Regions from separate parts of the Homo sapiens genome. Here region 1 is linked to region 2. Evidence: promoter capture Hi-C in human tissues and cell types (Jung and others, 2019). All regions are on one chromosome and are shown on one strand. Each heading gives the region's core, a stretch centred on a gene start or on the middle of the fragment in contact. The rest is flanking DNA. Distances are from core to core; before and after follow the strand shown.

Region 1 (3,636 bases), core at 305-2,804, 330 kb before region 2:
TTATAAGAAGATGTATATTCCCCTGAAGAAGGAGACCCAGGGAGCTATTTAAATTAACTGAGGAAAACTTGCAGAGCTGAAACAGAGGGGAAACTTACTTTATCACCTCTAAATTAATCTTCTACAAATGGAGACCCTATTTGGCTATTATGCTCACGAAAGGAATGTAGTTACCCTTAAAATGATGTTTAAGTGAGGAAACAATGCCCCTCTCATGTTTTATCATGTATTTCAAGTATCCCCCTTTTTTTTTCTTTTAAATTAGTAGAGAAGGGGTCTTGCTATGTTGCCCAGGCTGATCTCAAACTCCTCGTCTGAAGTGATCCTCCCACCTCCCAATGTGCTGGGATTATAGGCATGAGCCACCGCACCTAGCCTCAAATATTCTAAACCTTCGTTCTTATAGTGGGTTGGGTGGTAGCCCCCAGAAAGATATGTCCACATCCTAATATCTGAACCTGTTGATGTGACCTTATTTGGAAATGAGGTCTTTGCAGTTATAATTAGTTAAGGATCTTGAGATGAAGGGATCATCCTGGATTACCAAGGTGGGCCCTAAATCTAATGACAAGTGTCCACATAATAAAAAGAAGAGCCAGAGACATAGACACACATTGGAGAAAGCACTATTCATATGGTGTGAATATGGGGGCAGAGATTGGACCACAAGCCAAGGAATGCCATCACATGCTGAGACAGCATCAGGGTTCTCCTGTAGATATTCTCGAAGGAGCATGGCCCTGTTGGATATTAACCTTCAAGCCTCCAGAGCTGTGAGACAGGAAATTTTGGTTGTTCGAAGCCACCCAGTGTGTGGGAGTTTGTTATGGCAGCCCTAGGAACTAATATAGTCCTTAACAGTTAATTTATACTTGTTTTTCAAAAACAGCAAATTAAAATTTAAAAGAAAGTTCAGTGTCTGCTATTAATGTAACAGAATGTTGAAGCTTTTTTCTAGGCGTGCTTTCTTTTCTTGTTTCTGTTCAGGATGGCATCTACCTACAGTCATGCGTCACGGAACCACAGGGATTTGTTCTGAGAAATGCATCATTAGGCAGTGTCATTGTGTGACGGTTGTAGACGTAGAGTGTTCCACAAGCCTGGATGGTATATCTTCCTGCACACCTATCGCTGCTAGGCTACAAACTGGGACAGCAGATTACTGAACACTGTAGGCAGTTGCAACACAATGTGTATTGGTGTATCTAAACATAGAAAAGGTAAAGTAAAAATACCATATAAAGGACAAAAGATATGCCTGTATTGGGCAGCTCTATTGTAATTTTTTTTTTTTTTTTTTTGAGACAGAGTCTCACTCTGTCATTCAGGCTGGATTGCAGTGGGGTGATCTCAGCTCACTGCAACCTCCACCTCCCAGGTTCAAATGATTTTCGTGCCTCAGCCTCCTGAGTAGCTAGGATTATATGCTCGCACCACCACACCTGGCTAATTTTTGTATTTTTAGTAGAGATGAGGTTTTACCACGTTGGCCAGGCTGGTCTCAAACTCCTGACCTCAGTTGATCTGCCCACCTCAGCCTCCCAAAGTGTTGGGATTACAGGCGTGAGCCACTGTGCCTGGCCTCTATTGTAATCTTACGGGACCATTGTCATATAAGCGGTCCATGCTTGACCTAAACGTTGTGGTGTGGCGTGTGGTGCTATATGGGACGTAGATGTGGCTTATTTGACCTAGTGTTGGAAAAGGGGCAGGTGGTGTCTTCAGGTGTTTGTGGTACATTCTGAATGCCTCCTGGTCTCAGCTGATGACTTGCTGGTCTGAGCTATTATTCCCTTGCCTTGTGGCCACAGAGGAGGTGGGATTAGTCCCACTTCTGGCTGTGCCTGGTGTCTGCTGCTGGTAAAATTCACAGGCTTCACTTTCCCTAGGTTCATGGAAGGAGTGAGCTTTACTCTTAAGTAGTCTTAGCCTTCAAGTCTCAATGCACCATTTCAGCGACTGCCTTAGGGTCCATGCAGGCCTGCTGGCCCTCTTGCCACTGCTCACATTGAGCCTTGCTTCACTGCTTCCTGTAGCATGATATTTTATTCTTAGTGTGGATTGTGATCCCATTTTATTGGTAAGAGAACTGAGAAATTAAAACACTTGCTTAAGATAATAGCACTGACAAAAGTAGCAAGCAGAATTATGCATAACTAACATAGTGTGTTAGACACGGTTCTAGTAATCTACCCTGAAAATTTTGTCCTTTGTCACAGATAGATATTAAAGCTGAACCTGTTTCCAGGGCATGAGATGGCCTTCCATTTTCACTTCCAGCCCAGACTCCTCAGTGCCCACCCATGATCTGTGCTCTGGAGATCCCCCTTCACCTGGGGATTTTCTTTCATTTCTTTGAGGCTCAGCTTTGTATTTAACAAAATAGGAATAGTAATATTTTACCCAGCATATACTGGTTTTTAATGTGGCAGTTTTTGTTGTCTACTGCATTGCGTGAACAGAAGTTCTGTTCTCATTCTATCAATGCTGGCAAAACTCATTATCTCAATCCAACGAGTGTTTAGGCTAAAAACCTTATTAGTTGTTCTCGGTCTTATGGATATACTTTTACTTGCATACTCTCTTTCCTAGGTTAATGAGTTAATATTGAAAGCCAAAGTCATTCAAGAAATGTTTATTATTGCTTCCTGTGTAGGCCCACATGCCTGGCTGTTTATTTTGATTTTTCCTCAATCTCAGACTTTCAAAATCAGAGAATTAAGAGATGTAGTCATCTATTAATAAAAGAACTAAGAAATCTTAACTTTCCATTGAGACTTAATTGTAGATACCATTAACATTGTAATGTAATCATTATAATAATGTCTAACAGTTACTGAGTACTTACTGATAACCAGAAAACCTAGATTTTCTCCTTTAAACATCAAAGCTTTTAGGTACTATTACTATCCTTATTTTACAAACAAGGACATAGTGATGTTCTTACATTTCTGTAAGAAATGCCATTTAACCTACATTAGTGTACCCAGTGATTTGGCATGGCAAATGTTAATATGCAAGTAGTACACAGAGGAGACTATGACTTCAGAGTGGTTAAATGGTTTGTGTAAGATATCACAGCTGGTTACTAACAGAGCTGGCTTTCCCTCCATTCATTGAGCTAACTTTTCTTAGTCCTCTTTCTAACGAGAATCTTATAGTTTAAGGCTTTATAAATCAAGTATGTATTTAAGTTAATTATAGGGGTTCCATTATCCACATGTGCTATAATAATTCACAAACACTTAGGTCATCTCATCGCAGAAGAGATTCCTCCTGCATTGCACTGTGGCTTAGCAAAACAGCACAAGGCTAGAAAGCCAGTGAGACAGGCCTGGGTCCGGCTCGGCTACTTGTCCTGACTCAGGACAGGTGTGCAGCCTCTGTGCGTTTCTCTTTCTTCACCTCTCACTTGGGATAGTCTCAGCCCTCATGTTCTATGCTTTTATATAGTTTCTTCCTTAAAAGAGCATTCTTCTGTAACATGGAGTAAAAATGAGGAGAGCAAATTTAAAAAAAAAATCATTTTAAGCCTTTCTTGAGAATTAAGTAGTAAAACATGTGGTTACAAAAATGTTTAAAATTAATCCAAAACTTTTTCTTGAAATCAAGAAAACAATTGTATTTATAATAAAA
Region 2 (3,523 bases), core at 752-3,251:
CGCCGCCGCGCTCGCCAAGTGGCCCAGGTCTCCGCCCGCCTGGTTCAGGTACCACGAGGTGAGGCGGCCTTGGTGGGCCGCAGGGTGGTGGCCGGCCTCCTGGCCTCCCCCGCCGCCGCCGCCGCCGCCGCCGTGACTCAGGGACGACGAGCTGCTGCTGGTGACCGGAGGCAGAGAGTAGTCGGGCAGGGGGTCGTCCACGGCCGAGCCGCCCGCGCCCCCGGGCGCGCCCTGCAAGTGGCCCCCGCGCTCGCCGGCCGCGTACAGGCTCATGGCTTGCAGGTTGCAGTGGTAGGTCCCGGCGCCGCCCGCGCCCCCCGCGGCCCCCGCGCCGCCGCCGCCGCCGCCCGAGCTGCCCGCGCTGGAGGTCTGGCTGCAGGGGGAGCTGTAGAGGGAGCTCTGGCCGGGCGAGTAGGCGCCGAGCGCCAGCGGGGGTGCGATCCCCGCGCGCGAGGACGCGGCCGCCGAGGCCAGAAGGCCGGAGCTGAGCTCCGCGGCCGCGCTCTGCGGCGACCCCCGCAGCGACGTCATGATGTTGTCCACGCTGAAGCCCTGGCTATGGTGCGGCGGCGGGGCGGAGGGCGCGGGCGGCGGCGGCGCGGAATCCGCACCGTCCAGGCTGAGCGGCCGCGCCGACGGCAGGCTGCCCGGGGGGCTGCTCCCGCTGGACAGGCTGCTGCTGCTGCTGTCGGGGCTCTCGATCTTGGGCACCGCGGCGGCGCTGCCGCTGCCCAGGGCGGCGGCCGGGGACAGGGGCTGGGGCGGCGAGGGGCACGTACCGTTCTCGGTCTTGATGTCCTGGATGCGCACGGGCGGCGGCTGCGGACCGGGCGCGTTGCCGTCGGCCTGCTCCGGCGGCGCGGGCGGGGGCTGGCGGCCGGGCGGGGGCGGCTCCTTGAGGTGCAGCCTGTCCTTCTCCTCCTTGTCCTTCACCGCGTCCTTCTTCTTGAAGCGCCGCCGCCGCCGCAGGAAGCTGCCGTTCTCGAACATGTTGTAGGAGTCCGGGTCCAGCGTCCAGTAGCTGCCCTTGCCCGGCTTCTTGTCGTCGCGCGGCACCTTGACGAAGCACTCGTTGAGCGAGAGGTTGTGGCGGATGCTGTTCTGCCAGCCCTGCTTGTTGTCCCGGTAGAAGGGGAAGCGGTCCATGATGAACTGGTAGATGCCGTTCAGGGTGATCTTCTTGTCCGGGGCGTTCTGGATGGCCATGGTGATGAGCGCGATGTAGCTATAGGGCGGCTTCACCATGTCCTTGGGCTGCGGCTGCGGCGTGTAGGGCCCGTAGGCGCGGGCCATGCCGCCCGGGTACTGCTCGGCGTGCGCAGGGTGCGAGTACACGCTCATGGGGGCCGGCATGGCGGTGTAGCCGCCCCCGGCCGCCGCGGCCGCCGCGCGGTAGTAGCTCTGCTCGCCGCCGAGGTAGGGCACCACTCCCAGGGAGTTGGGGCTGGACACGGAGTAGCGCGCCTGCATGGCCCCCGCTCGCCGCCGCCCCGCGCCGCCCGCCGCCCCCCACCCTCGCTCGGGCCGGGCCGCGCCGCGCCGGCCGCCGAGTCCGAGTCCGGGCCCGGCCGAGCTGGTGCCGGCCCGCTGCGCTGTGCGTCCGGCTGCGCTGCCGCCTCTCCCGGCGCTCGCTGGGGCTGGCTCCTCCGGCGCCTCGGGCTACCTCGGGGCCCGCGCGGCCGCGAGGCGGGGTCGCTGCGAGGGGAGAAGGCCGGGCCCGGCCGCGGCAGACCGCCTTGCAGGAACTCGCGGCGCAGCTTCCAGGCGCAAACGGGGGAAAGCAGACAAAAAGAAAGAACAAGCAGGCGCCCTTCTCGCCACACTGCCTGCGCCTTCCAGGAGACTCTGCCCTGAGCTGCCGGCGAAGGCGGCCAAATAACCAGGGCGGGGGGGGGGGGGGCCGCGCGCCGGCCGCCTGCCCGGGCCCCGCGTCACCTTTTCTCGGTCTCTCGCGCGCCAGCCGCTTAAGGAAGCATTGGGAAAACTTCTGAACTTTTGAGCATCCGTCACCCAGGCGAGGACTTTTTTACGCAGTTACACTTTTTTCCGGGCAGCGGAGCCCCGCCCCGCCAGCGGCGGCAGCCAATGGGAGGTGAGAACCGCCTCCGAATGAGCCGGAGGCCGAGCCCTGCCGGCCCGCTCCCGGAGGCCGGAGGACCGCGGGGCTGACCACACGCGCGCCGGCCGCCCTGGCCCGGGCCCCGGCCCTGCGCCCGCGCCGGCGCCCGGCCCGCCGTCGGTTCGCCCCCCGCAGTCCACCTGCCTGCCGCCGGCGCCCGGCAGACCTCCCACCCCGGGCCCTCCGGACCCACGCCCGCCGTTCGCGCAGACTTCCTGGGTCCTCCCGGGACCCCGTGCAGACCCTTCCTTCGCCCACGGCTCCCGAGTGGCCCTGGCGTCTCCGCCCCGCCTCGTGCTGGCTCGCTCTCATTCCTTCGCCAGCCCCGCCGACGCCAGCGCTGGGGTTGCCCCAGCCTCTCCTCCCCGCCGCCTCTCCCCTCCCGCAGCCCCTTCCCTCCCTTCTCCAACGCCAGTCTCACTCGGGTCACTGACGTCTCCGGCTTTTCTCCACTTGGAGGTTCTCCTGTCCTGAACTCGGCTACAAAGGACATGATTTTGAGGGCTCGGTCACAGCCAGGCCCTGCTCGCGGTGGGGAAGAAGGTTCGTCGCCCATCTGGCCCCCCTCCATGACCCCTCCCCAGCCGAAATGAAGGCAAGGGGTGCGGGGCCCTGCTGGGAGTTTCCGACGGCCGTTCACCCGCGAAGGATGAGCCCGCCCCGCTGCGGGCCGCCCTGCTTCTCGCCCCCCTCCCCGGGGGGCCGGCCCTTGGCGGCCTGAGGGTGCGGGCGGCGAGGGCTGCCGGAGCCCGGCTGCTGCCCCGCGCTCCCCTGCCCGCCCGCGAGGGTCCCACCGGCTCGCCGCGCCGCCGCCCCCTCTGATCCCGTCAGGCCCGTTTCGGCTCAGATGAGGGGTCAGGCTGCGGGCTCGGTGACATTAGCAGGTGTGATGACAAGAAGCAAATAAATATGTCTAAGAGCTTAACGCTTCCCCAGGCCAGTCTCCATCTCCACATGCGCGGGGCTGCCGGCTCGCAGAGACAACGGGTGTGTCTGGGGGAACGTCCAGGGTCGCACCTAGAGGGCGGTTCAAGGATTCTGGGGGGACACGCACGGAAGGGCCCCCGCTCGTTGTGCACACGCCTGAGATTCGCCGTCGCTGGGTGGTTGGAATGGGACAGGAAGAAGAGAAATGAGGGAAAGAAACGAAGGAGCGGGAAAGAGCCAGGCCTCCCTCCCCCGGCACGGCGATTCTGCATTTTAGCGACTTGAGGAGAGACCCTCCCGGAGGCTGAATCCCAAGTCGTTCACTAGAAGCTGGGGGAAGTGGCGAGCTCAGGAGACTGCGAAGAAGCGTGCGTGACGCATTTAACAGCTCCGCTGCCCCTGATTTCCGACCATCTATTAAATCCAAGGACATGTTCGGGACCCCTTTTGTCTCCCCGGTTCGAATCCCGGCTTCCT

What was found. Contacts are between HindIII fragments. The study calls those that stand out against the background at their distance.
Region 1: a contact is called between a fragment that was not itself captured here and the fragment with the promoter of FOXC1 in region 2, in 2 of the 25 tissues and cell types used here (IMR-90 fibroblasts and aorta).

The regions. Positions count from the first base shown.
Region 1 is chr6:1,934,632-1,938,267 of GRCh38, reverse strand. The region is part of intron 6 of GMDS (GDP-mannose 4,6-dehydratase); the gene reads left to right. Among named protein-coding and RNA genes, the nearest start is that of GMDS, 310 kb to the left of the region's middle. The HindIII fragment of the contact is 4,189 bases long and covers 1-3,636 here.
Region 2 is chr6:1,608,393-1,611,915 of GRCh38, reverse strand. FOXC1 (forkhead box C1) reads right to left here and starts at 2,001. Exons shown (of 1, transcript NM_001453.3): 1 at 1-2,001. The coding sequence starts at 1,470. RefSeq lists an enhancer at 1,144-1,243 and a silencer at 1,574-2,193. The HindIII fragment of the contact is 11,200 bases long and covers 1-3,523 here.